Regions from separate parts of the Homo sapiens genome. Here all the other regions are linked to region 1. Evidence: promoter capture Hi-C in 16 types of primary human blood cells and fetal thymus (Javierre and others, 2016). All regions are on one chromosome and are shown on one strand. The core of a region is centred on a gene start or on the middle of the fragment in contact, and the rest is flanking DNA. Distances in the headings are between cores, read along the strand shown. Region 1 holds the start of TMEM237 (transmembrane protein 237). Region 2 overlaps TRAK2 (trafficking kinesin protein 2). Region 3 overlaps TRAK2 (trafficking kinesin protein 2).

The links. Contacts are between HindIII fragments. The CHiCAGO score rates a contact against its expected background, and 5 or more counts as called.
Region 2: a fragment that was not itself captured here is called in contact with the fragment with the promoter of TMEM237 in region 1 in 1 of 17 cell types (endothelial precursors); the score reaches 6.2 in endothelial precursors.
Region 3: a fragment that was not itself captured here is called in contact with the fragment with the promoter of TMEM237 in region 1 in 1 of 17 cell types (endothelial precursors); the score reaches 5.2 in endothelial precursors.

Annotation. Positions count from the first base shown.
Region 1 is chr2:201,642,253-201,646,426 of GRCh38, forward strand. It overlaps TMEM237 (transmembrane protein 237), which reads right to left and starts at 1,251. Exons shown (of 13, transcript NM_001044385.3): 1 at 1,107-1,251. The coding sequence starts at 1,148. It overlaps MPP4 (MAGUK p55 scaffold protein 4), which reads right to left. Exons shown (of 22, transcript NM_033066.3): 22 at 2,622-3,152. The coding sequence ends at 2,958. RefSeq lists silencers at 350-539, 1,110-1,369. The HindIII fragment of the contact is 8,699 bases long and covers 1-4,174 here.
Region 2 is chr2:201,401,649-201,405,822 of GRCh38, forward strand. All of the region lies in intron 3 of TRAK2 (trafficking kinesin protein 2), which reads right to left. Among named protein-coding and RNA genes, the nearest start is that of FLACC1, 46 kb to the left of the region's middle. The HindIII fragment of the contact is 6,322 bases long and covers 1-4,174 here.
Region 3 is chr2:201,437,869-201,442,042 of GRCh38, forward strand. All of the region lies in intron 1 of TRAK2 (trafficking kinesin protein 2), which reads right to left. Among named protein-coding and RNA genes, the nearest start is that of TRAK2, 12 kb to the right of the region's middle. The HindIII fragment of the contact is 1,540 bases long and covers 1,347-2,886 here.

The sequences.
Region 1 (4,174 bases), core at 1-2,500:
CAAAAGGGTTAAATTTTAGACACTCTTGTAGTTTGTCCCATTTAGCAATCCATTCGTTCGAACAGTAGATTAATGCAAGTACTACAAGATTAGGACGAGGCAAGCTGCCGTAATACCATCCAGTAGTCAAAATTACAATTGGAGAAGAATGACAGTCACAGGAACGCGCTATTGTTCTAAAGATGCTACGAAGCGCGCGCGATCGATCCCAGGGCTCTGTTCACGTAACTGATTTCAAAAGTCCCGCAAAAATGACGTTCCACCCACCCAGAGACCCAACCTCTAATCCTCAAAAGTAGGACGGCTCAACTGAAGACAAAAATCCTAACAATTAAAAGTAGCTAAGGCTCGCTTACCACAGGATTCTTCCCCATTCTGCGTTTAGCCGGCCTCGGCGGCCGCCGGCCCCCAAGCACCTGGCGCCCCACCCCTCCCGGCTCGGTCGCGCGCGCAGGCGCAATGCGTCATCGGGCCGCGCCGCCTGGCTAGTACCCCGCGCGCAGCGCCCTGCGGGGATGTTGCGGTGAGAGGCGTGCAGGGACCTGGATTGGCCAGTCCAGACTAGCCCTGCCAAAAAGGGGGCCTCGGAGTTGGGGGTAATGTGCCCAGGAGCAGAAATCTGGCGACCGTGGCGCTGCAATCACAGCTTTCCCGTGGTTTCCTAAGTGGTGGCGGTGATTTGTTTGCGGGAAGCGGGGCGTGACGGAAGACCTTAATTAAAGGACTCCGCAGGCGAACAGATCTCTTCTGGGCAGCTACAGACCTCTCCTCGGAGGAGTCTAGGAGAGGCCTGGCTGGAAGCCCCGGCACCCGCCGGGCCCCGGGCCTCAGATGAGTGAGGCGTCGTCGTGGCAACGCGGGCTCAGGTCCCCGCAAACTTCATGCCAGGCCTCTCTCTCCCACTCCGGGAGTTCGGTCCCGGCCTCGCCTGCGTCTCCGTCCCATTCCTGTGAACACTGGAGGGGCGGATGCGCGCACCCCACGAGCAAGGCCCTCCCTTAGTGATTCCCAGCTCGTTGGCGCCCCCCCACACACACCCACCCCCACTGCCAAGTGTAGCTGTTTACCCGCCACCTCTCGAGGCCGACGCGCCCCTCGCCGCTCACCAGGTGGCCCTCCTCCAGCCGAGCCCCCGAGTCAGTCCTCATGGTGCTCTCCCCGCGGGGCTGCCCCGGCGCAACCGCCGGCGGCCCGAGCCCAGCTCCCCGCGACGCAGCGGCCTCCGGGACCTGTGGGACGCCGGGGCTTCGTGGCGCCTGGCGAGGCAGCCGCCCCCTGAGCCAGGTCCCCGCCCGCCTCTGTCCTGCCAGGCGCTGCTGGGTTTGGGAGGAATGCGTTTACTCTCCAGGACCAACGAGTCTGTGCAGGCCTGGGTGTGTGGATGTGTATTAATATAGGCAATTCTCACATTTTCTCCGATTGCTTACCCTTCATCCCACAACTGTGTAAATCAAATTTGGAAAAACTTTTTCTCAACCTTAAAATCAAATCCAACCTCACATAAATATCACTACAAACTACCTGATTTGCATCGTTTGGTTTGGTTGGGTTTGTTTTTTTTTAAAGATAACTTTCACTTTAAGTAACAGAGAACTACAAATATTTTGAATCATGCATTCTGTTTTACAGTTAAGAAAGAAATGGGAAAGATGGAAGAATGGTGTGGATATGGAGAAGAGAATGATGCAGAAGATGAACAGATACAGGGACAGGGAAAGCGCCTGGAAATCTCAAATCTGGGGAAAGAAAGAGAAACAGCACTTTGTAATGGCATCCTAATCTTGTTACCAAACAAACGGGGCTTGTTGCCCTATACGCACAGAAGCCAATATTATGGCGCTGATTTTTTGAGAAAAGTTTTCATTGTGAGTCAGCTAACAAGGAGACAGGAGTATAGCTCTAATCTGTCTCCCTGTGTTGGCTTTAAGACAGTATTTTTATTAGAAAACGTTTAGGGGGTGGATTCTGGGATTAGTAGGTGATTGGTGGAAGGAAAGAAGCCATCTGGAAAATCCTCTGGCGTTCGCAGTTACCTCTTCATGTCCCTTCATGGGTCGCATGTGCAAATTTTGGAGGGAGTCAGTGTGAAACATGGGGAAAGATTCAAGCTGTGACGCCAGCAAGCTCATTTTGTACAGACTCCAGGTAGCCATCCGTGTTAGTACTAACCACTTTCAGCCAGTTTGCTTTGTTTTGTTTTGTTTTGTTTTTTAATCTCACAATGGAAGAAGTTTAGGCGTTTTATTTAGCAAGTTGTTTTTTATCTGCCGTCCTGCATGCTCAAGAATTTCTGTTAGTCCCTGGTTTCTTTAACTCTGAGACACGGTTTCACTCTTGTGATTTTCTATATATAGGTCTCTGGGATTAATCCATTGCCTTTTTCTAATTTAGGCCTGCATGTAGATATTGGCTGTTAAGGAAAATTAGTGTTTGTCACACCTCTCATGAGAATAATTTTTTCCTTGTAGGCCGATTTGTAAATAGTGAAGGCAGTGCAGTTTCTTGTAGGTTTTGATTTTAGATGTGAAATGTGTACATTAAACCTTTCTTGCTGAGTTAGTCAAGTAAGCACTTTTTGTAAAAGATGTTTTCATAAAACACGTTTCATAGAGTACAGTTTCTAAAGTTAACTATTGCTTATTTTATTTAGGAAAGCTCTTTATTTAAATCTTAAAAAGATCATGTGAAATCTGCGAAAGGTTCTCATACTCAGTGACTTAACATTATTCATATTTCTACCACAGCTGCATATGAGGTAAAGGAAAAAAAATTAAGTTAAAATAGGTAACCACATAACCATACAATAAAAATTTTTTTCAAATAAGATTAATTAATAAATTGCTGCACTTTTAAAGTTGTACACATTAAAATGGGTCAAATACTGTTGTTTTAGATTGCAACTATGGATCGCTGTATCAAGGGTACAGTGTTAAAACTCCAGCATTAAACAAGAAGTCTCATTGAGACTCAGTATCTGAGGAAATCCATGTTGCTGGTACCCACTGAGGCTCCTCCTGAGCCTTCTGTATGGCAGACAACAACTGGGCACATGCATCGTGCAAGCTGTCATTCACAATCACATGATCAAAAAATTGGCCAAACTGAGTTTCCATTCTTTGGGCTAAATTTTCCATCTCTTGTAGGTCTTCATCCTTTAGGAGAAATAGAAAAATATGGATAGTACAGACTTAATTGGACAAATGGAAAAAATACAGTTTGTTATGCTGTCACATTCAGTTGTGAAACTATGTATAAAAACAGTAAGGTCCGAAAATTTTGCACAGATGATTTTCAATAAAGTTTCAAAAATATTTTTTCAAAATTCTACAAAACCAGCAAACTAGAAAATAGTAATTTTTTTGCCCTCTGTTATTGAAATAATGTGGCTAAGTATAGATAAAATAATTTTTTTTTTTTTTAGACAGGGTCCCACTCTGTCCCAGGCTGGCATGCAGTAGGATCATCTCAGCTCACTGCAGCCTCTGCCTCCCAGGCTCAAGTGATCCTCCCACCTAGGCCTCCCAAGTAGCTGGGACTATAGGCACATGCCATCATGCCCAGCTAATTTTTGTAGAGAAAATATAATTATTATAACAGGTATAAACATATCCTTCTAAATTAATGTGAAGCATAAGCAAAGCTGGGAAAAGTATATCACTATCCACAGTATGTCATCCTTTATTTCTTAGAAATGTATTACTGAGATAAAGAAATTTTAATTTGGAAGTTTTTTTAAATAATAAAAGACTGAAGTTTTTATTTTAAAAAATGAGGTCCAATAAATGTCTTCTAAACTACAAAACTTATGTTTTAATCTTTAGTCTTAATGTCTCGTCATGTTTTGCAAAATTTAGTCATAGTTTGCAGACAGATTACTCCCCTCAACTTCCCGTGTGAACTTATCTTACTCTTACCTAAACACTTGAAACTTTTTAACCATATACAACATAAAACCAAAGAAAATGTACCAGTTTAAATAAAATTTAAACATAAATTTCAAGTGAACATTAATCTGATAGGGATAACATTAAAGATACAAAATGGCCACTTTCAACATGAGGATGGTATAAGCCAGTTATATTATGTTTCTACTATTGTGAAATGTTCATTTAATGAAGGTAATTTGGCATTCACTTGGCACTAATGCATTAAATTCATTGCTGTTATTTTCTTA
Region 2 (4,174 bases), core at 615-3,114, 240 kb before region 1:
TTTACTTGTATAAAAATCTTTCTCCCATCTAGGTCTCAGCTATAAAATAAATTGTATGCTACATTATTAGTTGTATAATTCAAGCCCTGTATTTCTGCACTTCACAAGTTCAGGAATTGTCAATGTACCTGGATAATTTAGTTCAAAAGAGAAGGGCAAATATGACTCCAATGATTCCAGTCACACTAAACAGTATCTTAAAGTTAATAATGCATAACAAAAGAGGGCTCTTTTGACTTTGAACATGATACGTTACTGCAGAACATAATTCTGTGTTTGACTTAGACTCTTTTATTATAACTAGTTTGCCTTGAAGTGTGAAAAGGACAGGGGCTTTGGAGTAGAAAAGCTGAATTCATAAATTTTAGTGAGCTGGAACAAGTCACTTAACCCTTCTGAGATTCAGATAATAAATATGGAGGTGATAACACATCTCATGAGGTTATTAAGAGGATCAAACATGATAATCTACTAAGCAATAAAGTATTCGTTAACTGCTACGTATCATATAACTGTTTATAGTTACTACTCCTTAAACAGAACTGGTAGGTATGAAATGATTCTGACTTTAAATTCTCTGAATTGGCAGTAATTCATAGTTCCATAGTCCCATCTTAACACTTTAGGGTGCCCACGACTGAGTATGAAGGGATATCATTAGATATGTTTTACTTTTATCTGAGCTTATTTTCTCCCTGGCACCACTGACTAAAATGAATCTGGGAATTACCTATAGCTTAATTATTAATAATAGCCTTATTCCTAGTTAAAAGTAAAACAAAGTGCTGGCTTGATGGTATTGGAGATAACTAAAAAAGATTTAAACTGAAAATATAAAAACTTTTCTTAAAAGCTAGAAATAAACATTTGTACTCCAAAAGAATTTATATTTACAAATAGAGAAACTAACAATGATTTAACCACAGTGATAAGGGAAGCAGACTTTTGGGCCTAAGGAATAGACACAATATAATTTGGTAGCATAGCGGGAACAAAGGATTAAATAATTAAGGCAAATACTTACAGTGAATGGTCTCCTTTACTTCTGGTCTCAATAACAAAATTATGGGAAAAATATAAAATCAATATATCCATGCTCTAAACTAATTACAGAAAACCAGACAATGGTTGTAAACCCAAATGTAATATAGAGCAATGGCTCTTAAGTCCAGATTCCGATTTAATTAATTTCAGGGAGCCCTGTGGCGCTGGTAGTATGCAGAAGATTCCCAGGTGTTGAAAATGACCTGGAGCCAGGAATTAAAACCACCAATCTGGGGTTAACACCCAAAGCAAAAATCAGGCATCCTATAGGCTCAGTTAAAATCAGTTTTTATACAACGAGTTTAACAAACACATGACATGACTGACCAGAGTTAAAGATGAAGTGGCAGATTTAACTTGGAGTAAGACCAGTAAGTTAAGGATATAAAAACAACTGTGAACCACAAGTCATATATGATGAAAGGGGAAGAAAAAAATGAAGGACACAGTAATACAGTGAAGAAATGTTTAGAATAAAATATGTTTTAGTGAGGAAAAATGAAAAAATATTTCCTATAAATGCTTACCATCTGTCACAGCATAAAAATTTAAAGCTGAACCTTAAGAAGTTATCTAGTTTAATGATCTCACTTTCTTGTATGAGGAATCTTCTCTGAGAGAAATTATGTGGCATGTTCAAGACCACGAAGAAAGCTATTAGTGGCAAAGCTGGAATTTTAGTATGGAGATGATAATAACGCTCATCTCACAAGGTCATTAGAAAAAACTCAGATGATGTAAGAGTCCAGTAATGAGCTCTTTCCACTGTGCTGCTGTTTCTACCGCAGCCCCACTAAGAACATAAAAAAGACCTTGTCTAATGAAATACCAGCATATACACCTGTGAATGCATGTTATATAATAAAACAGCATAGATCCCAATTTTGCTTTTTAAAGTGTGAGCATATCTATAAATATCTATATTCAACAGAGCCTGAAAGGATATACATTAAAATGTTAATAGTGGTTATCTCTGGGTAAGGACTATGGCTGATCTGTTTTCTTTTCAGCGTTTTGCCAGTTTTCCATAGAACAAATGTTATTTTCCAAACAGAAAAAAAAAAAAAACCCACAAAAACCCAGGAACCTTTGTTAAAAAGTTTCAAAAAGCAAAAATGAACTTTAAAATGCCTAAGTATTTGTTATGGCAAAAAAGTTAGATAGTGCAATCAGAATTTTCAAATTCTTATGTCGAATGCGCAACCTAGATACTACCAATCCACAAAGGCTGGGCCTCTTCAGTTGCACAGAAAGATGTCAGGCACAAAACAGAAAGGAACAATGGATTTTTCCTTTTCCAATGGAAAAGAACAATGGATTTTTCTCTCTGCAGTGGAATCAGTTCTGTCTTCTCTTCCTTAACACAATACTCCTGATAAAGACATGCTGCTTGGAATGATTCCAAAAGTACTCAGGGCAAAACTCTTAAGTGTTTAAAGTCTTGGCATTTAGACATTGTAATTAAATGCTTCAAAAACCACAGACTAGTTCTTCACCATAATTCTGTAGCCAGGAATGTAGAGGTAGCCAAGCAGGTTGTCTTTGTTAAAATCAATCCTATCAAAACCTATTTTCCCGTCAGTTTTCGTTGTTGAAAATATGTTAAATGATACAGAAATTAGCAATGATCCTTGCTTATTTCCAGACATAGACTTCCCTAACTCTCTAAAAAAGTATTTATACATCAGGGAGACGATAGATATTTTTACAGAACAATTTTGCAACTTGGTTTCCAGAGGTTGTTAATTAATGTTCAACATTTTTGGTGTAATGTTTGGAGAATCTAATGTTCCTGAAAATACAGGGTGGGAGTTTAACATACATAAGCACTTCACTAATCCTTACTTTATGTTCTGTCCCTGCATAATTTCACATTAACTAGCTCAATCTCACATTATTTTCAGGATGGGAAACACCAATGATAATCCATTCTAATATCTGTCATTTACATGAGATGGTGCTTGATAGTTCTCTCATATGTCCCTTCTCAAGATCTAAAGTTTTTACCACAACTATAGAATTTCAAAAAGAATTCTAATCTTGCAGCACTCTCCAACTTTCCCACACCAAAACCAACAAAAACAACAACAAAATAGAAATGAAACACAAACAGTGCCCACATGGCATAGTAAAAGCTACAATAGCTCCTGACACCTACAGGCAGGTCTTGAGGTTTTAACCCTAAAGCAGTGACCACAGCCCTTGCTGCTACGATATAGCAAACATTTCTGCCTTCAAAATGACTGAGAGAAACTGATGATACACACCATCTAGGGCAGTCTTTCTCAACAGGATTCCAGGGGAGAATCAGGCCCTACAGACCATTTGAATGACAATTTTCTCAATTCTCCCAAGAATTGTACAAAGCTAGTACATGATGCATGGGTGATAAGGTAATCCACTGTATAAACGCTAAGTGTCTTAGGGTGTATAGCTTAATTCTCTTGTGGAACCGAAGGAGAGAGCTTATCTAAGGGAAAAATAAATCTGCTAACCTCTATGACTGGGTTTATGGTTAATGCTTCCTGAACTTCATCAGTCATATGTTCTTTTCTGCCAGTACAGGTTAATAATTTTTGAGGGCAGAGCCTGAGGAAAAGTATACCTACCAATTGGAAGTAATAATTTCTATGACCATATTTATCTGCAAAATTATACACTCTCTCCGATTCCTTAATTCTCCAATTAATGTCACTGTGAAATGGCCATTTGCTTTGGTTGGCAATGCTTTGTATCAGTGGTTCTCAAACTTGTGTGTGCATCAGTATCACCAGGAAGACTCTTTAAAACACAGGCAGCTATGACTGTCTCACCCTTAGAGTTTCTAATTTTGTAGGTGGAGTAGGGGGCCCAAGAATGTGAATTTCTAACAATTTCTCAAGTGACATTGATTGCAGGGGTCCACAAAGAACAAATAAACTAAAGGGCACTTTCTGTGACGCTTTGTCAAAATAATGACAAACTAAATTTATCCAGATGAAATTTCAGTTTGAAAGTTCTCAGCAATTTAGGCCGGGCGCAGTGGCTCACGCCTGTAATCCCAGCACTCTGGGAGGCCGAGGCAAGCAGATCACAAGATCAGGAGTTCGAGACCAGCCCAATCAACATGGTGAAACCCCGTCTCTACTAA
Region 3 (4,174 bases), core at 867-3,366, 200 kb before region 1:
CTAGCAACTTGGTTTTTCATGCAGACTTTCTTATAAGGGAAAAATATACTAACTCTATGGGGACCCAAATATGTAGTCCACTTGGCAGTTGTACTGTATATCAAGATCACACATCCTGGCTTATTTATTATTCTTTAATGTATTTGATTAGTGTATCATTTTCTCAGGGCCTTATCAACTCAGTACAGTGAGAAAACTTCAGTTTCCAGACCTACACAATTGAAGAGGAGACACCACTACCCTGTGAAACTTTTCCTGAGCAAAAGGAACTAGCTCTTTGACACTGAAAGCAAAAATCAAAACATTTTAGTGAAATTCGTGCCTTTACTGAACAATAAAACAAACGAAACTAGCACTCCGAAGGTTTTGAAGACCAGCTAATGATGGTAAACAATTTATGATAAAGACACAAGGGCCTTCTGTGTTTCAAATGAAATGCATATGATAAAGAAATATGTTCTCAATTCTGTTGCAAATCAGTCTTTCCTAATAATAGTTAGCTGATTGAGTACTTACTAGGTGCCAGGCATCATGTTAAATGCTTTCTGTGTATGATTACCTCCTTTAATCCTCACAATTCCATGAGGTGAATGTTATTACTGTCATCATTTTACAGACAAGAAAATTAAGGCTTAGAGGTTAATTACTTGTCCATACTAAGAGCCAGGAATAAAACCCAACTATGTTTTTCCAAAGCTGAGGCCTCTATCCTCTGAGCTTTACTAGCAAGGGACTGGAGTGTGAGGATAGTAGTGTGTGTGTAGTTTGCAAAAGCCTCAGATAATTCTACTACAATCCTATGTCTCTACTCCACTTTTTAAAAACACATAGTGGTTACTGAATATAGAAGAAGAAGAAAAAAAACAAGTAATCCGCTCCCCCCAACCATTTGTTCTTGAGCAATTTATATTTGCTTTTAGAAATGACTTATCTGGTTCCAGAGTTGGGTGTATTTACAGTGAGGCAGAATAATCTGTGTGTGTGTTGTATGTACATCACACAATTCTTAATGAGACAACTCCAAATCTGACTTTGGTTCTGTTTTTAAGTGGGTAATTCTACAATATCAAGAAAATAATACAGATGTATTACCATAAATTGGGAAGCATTCTGTTACTTGTTTTGAACTGCTAAAAGTAGTAAATGGAACATAGATAAAAAATAAATCTCTATTCCAATAAATTAAGTCTACCTCTATCTTAGTATCTGGCAAATGACAGGCATTCAATAAATATCTGTTAAATGAATGAATCAGGCTGTAGTCAAATTACATCCTTGTAGTCTATAGTAGGGAGGAAAATGAACTGCATAGGAATATGAGACTGTTAGAACATGTGGAAATGGAAAGCTTTCTTAGCCTAATTTACAAAAGTCTACATAGGTCTCTCATGGGTATCAGTAAAGTAGGTGTACGTGCAGGGCTATACCAACTAAGCTCATCGGTTACTCTGAAGGTGCAAACATTCCCTAGAGATGGGATTGACAACATGATGGCAAAAATACCACAGAATCTTTAATACTTTTTTTTTTTGTGGTTTTCCATGGTTTTCTTATTTTAAAAAACATTGATGGTAAGATGTTTTCCTCCTGAAGTTAACACATGATAACGAGGAAAGTCCAATAAACTGCCATGGGAGGAAAAAAAAAGTCCTTAGGCCAGACAGAAAATAATTTGATGACTCAGGATCATTACTAAGAAGAGCAATTACTGTATTATAATATAATGACTACAGTGATATCCTCCAGGATTATAAACTTTTAAAGAGCTTTTTCTGGGTGGTGTAGCCAAGATGGCAAAATAGAAAATAACCTGCTCAAATGTCCAACAATGATAGACTGGATTAAGAAAATGTGGCACATATACACCATGGAATACTATGCAGCCATAAAAAATGATGAGTTCATGTCCTTTGTAGGGACATGGATGAAATTGGAAATCATCATTCTCAGTAAACTATCGCAAGGACAAAAAACCAAACACCGCATGTTCTCACTCATAGATGGGAATTGAACAATGAGAAAACATGGACACAGGAAGGGGAACATCACACTCTGGGGACTGTTGTGGGGTGGGGGGAGGGGGGAGGGATAGCATTAGGAGATATACCTAATGCTAAATGATGAGTTAATGGGTGCAGCACACCAGCATGGCACATGTATACATATGTAACTAACCTGCACATTGTGCACATGTACCCTAAAACTTAAAGTATTAAAAAAAAAAAGTGCCTCTTAAAGAAGAAAAAAGAAAAAGAAAATAACCCGCTCATATGTGACCCCAACAAGTCTGCACCCATCCATAGTTAAAGAGCTCTTTCTCCCTATAGTAAATAATCCCAAATTGCTATTTTTTTTTTAAGATTTTAAGCCCATTTCTAATTTTGTTTCCTCCCTCACTGTGAGGCTATCAACTACTACACTTTACTGTTGCTAGCTTGCCTCTCCCCTTTCTAACTCGCTGTTGGCTGAGAAACCAGATAAGCAGGTTATCAGAACACCCATAAGGTGTCTGTTTGACTGAACTCCAGGACCTGTTTTTCTGCCCTTGGCTGACTTCCCAAATACCTCTTTCTTTCATCCCTCCAGCACCAGGGATTTAGCTGGCTTTCTCCTCCTCCTTTGGCACTGTCAGCAAGTGCTTTTCTCACCTGGTATTCTTTTACCTAGCCTAGCTATGAACATGAACACACTCTGTCCTTTCTTAACTGTCTCCCTAGAAAAGACAGCTCTTCCTCTATTCTTTTGTGAGAATTTTACTGTTAATTGCTAGGGGAAATATAAAGTGGATTATAAATATGGAAAAAAGGTTTAGGAAATCTTAACATCCCTCACTGTAATTTTTGCTTTTAACCCATTTATGCCTACTGTTCCATTATTGGAATGCTAAGCTTGTGGGAGTCATATCCTACTGCTCAAGGTCATCGCCAAAGTCTGATTTTTCACACAAAAAAATTTGCAACCTCTGGCATAAATGGGTTAATCAGTGTTTATTGATTCCCTTTCTTGGATGATCCCAGAAGATGGCTGCCCACTAGTCATTCTTCCCTCACTACACTGCAAGTTCCTCAAAGGAAGGGACCTTATTTTTGTTATGTCCAAAACCTAACAGCAACTGACACACAGTAGTCTTGCAAAATACGTGCCTACTACCTAGAAGCTTAATCATTAAAAATATCAATACACTGAGTTACAGAAGTAATTTAATGAACAAAGTTGATATTAATACATTTTCAATACAACATCAACTAAATGAATTGCCTTGAAAAACACAGTTAAGCTAAGATTGAATATTCTAAAGAAAAACACTTATGTGCTTTATGAAAAAATCTGCATAAAAGAGTTTGGTGTTAAAAGGGTGCTTTATCATTTTTATAGCAATGACACACTATACACTTTTCTGTAATAACTAAAAAGAACTAGTTGTCAGTCTCATAGGAAAGCCAAAACTCAACATTCATTTGGCTCATTGCTTAGTTTTATCACAATTTCCACTAAGAGCATTTGCAGCTGATCATGAATGCATTTAAAATAAGCCCCACATCAAATGAGAAATGGTCAGATATCTTCTTTTAAAAACTCACAATTGCTAATAAAAGCTTCATTTGTAGTCTTTCAATTTTGTAACTAAAAATAAAACAAAGGCAAATTCAGTGGTTTGGCCTAGTACTTGCTGAGAAAGTTAAGAATGGTTGAAATGTTTTTTTAGTTGTTAAATTACATGCTTTGGGAACAGTAGTAGCATCTCAGAAGCATTTTAGTTGGTTTCTAGTCTCTTCCTCCTCCTCCTTTCTTCCTCCAGACAGTGTGCTCTTTCTTTTTTTTTTTTTTAATTTTCTCCCCCGAGACAGAGTCTTGCTCTGTCGACCAGGCAGGAGTGCAGAGGCGCGATCTCAGCTCACTGCAACCTCCGTCTCCCGGGTTTAAGCGATTCTCCTGCCTCAGCCTTCAGAGTAGCTGGGATTACAGGTGTGCTCCACCACGCCCAGCTAATTTTTGTATTTTTAGTAGAGATGGGGTTTCACCACATGTTGGCCAGGCTGGTCTCGAACTCCTGACCTCGTGATCCACCCACCTGGGCCTCCCAAAGTGCTGGGATTACAGGTGTGAGCCACTGTGCCCGGCCGATGGTGTGCTCTTTCTAAACCAACAAACTTCCTTTTGTTTCAACTTACAC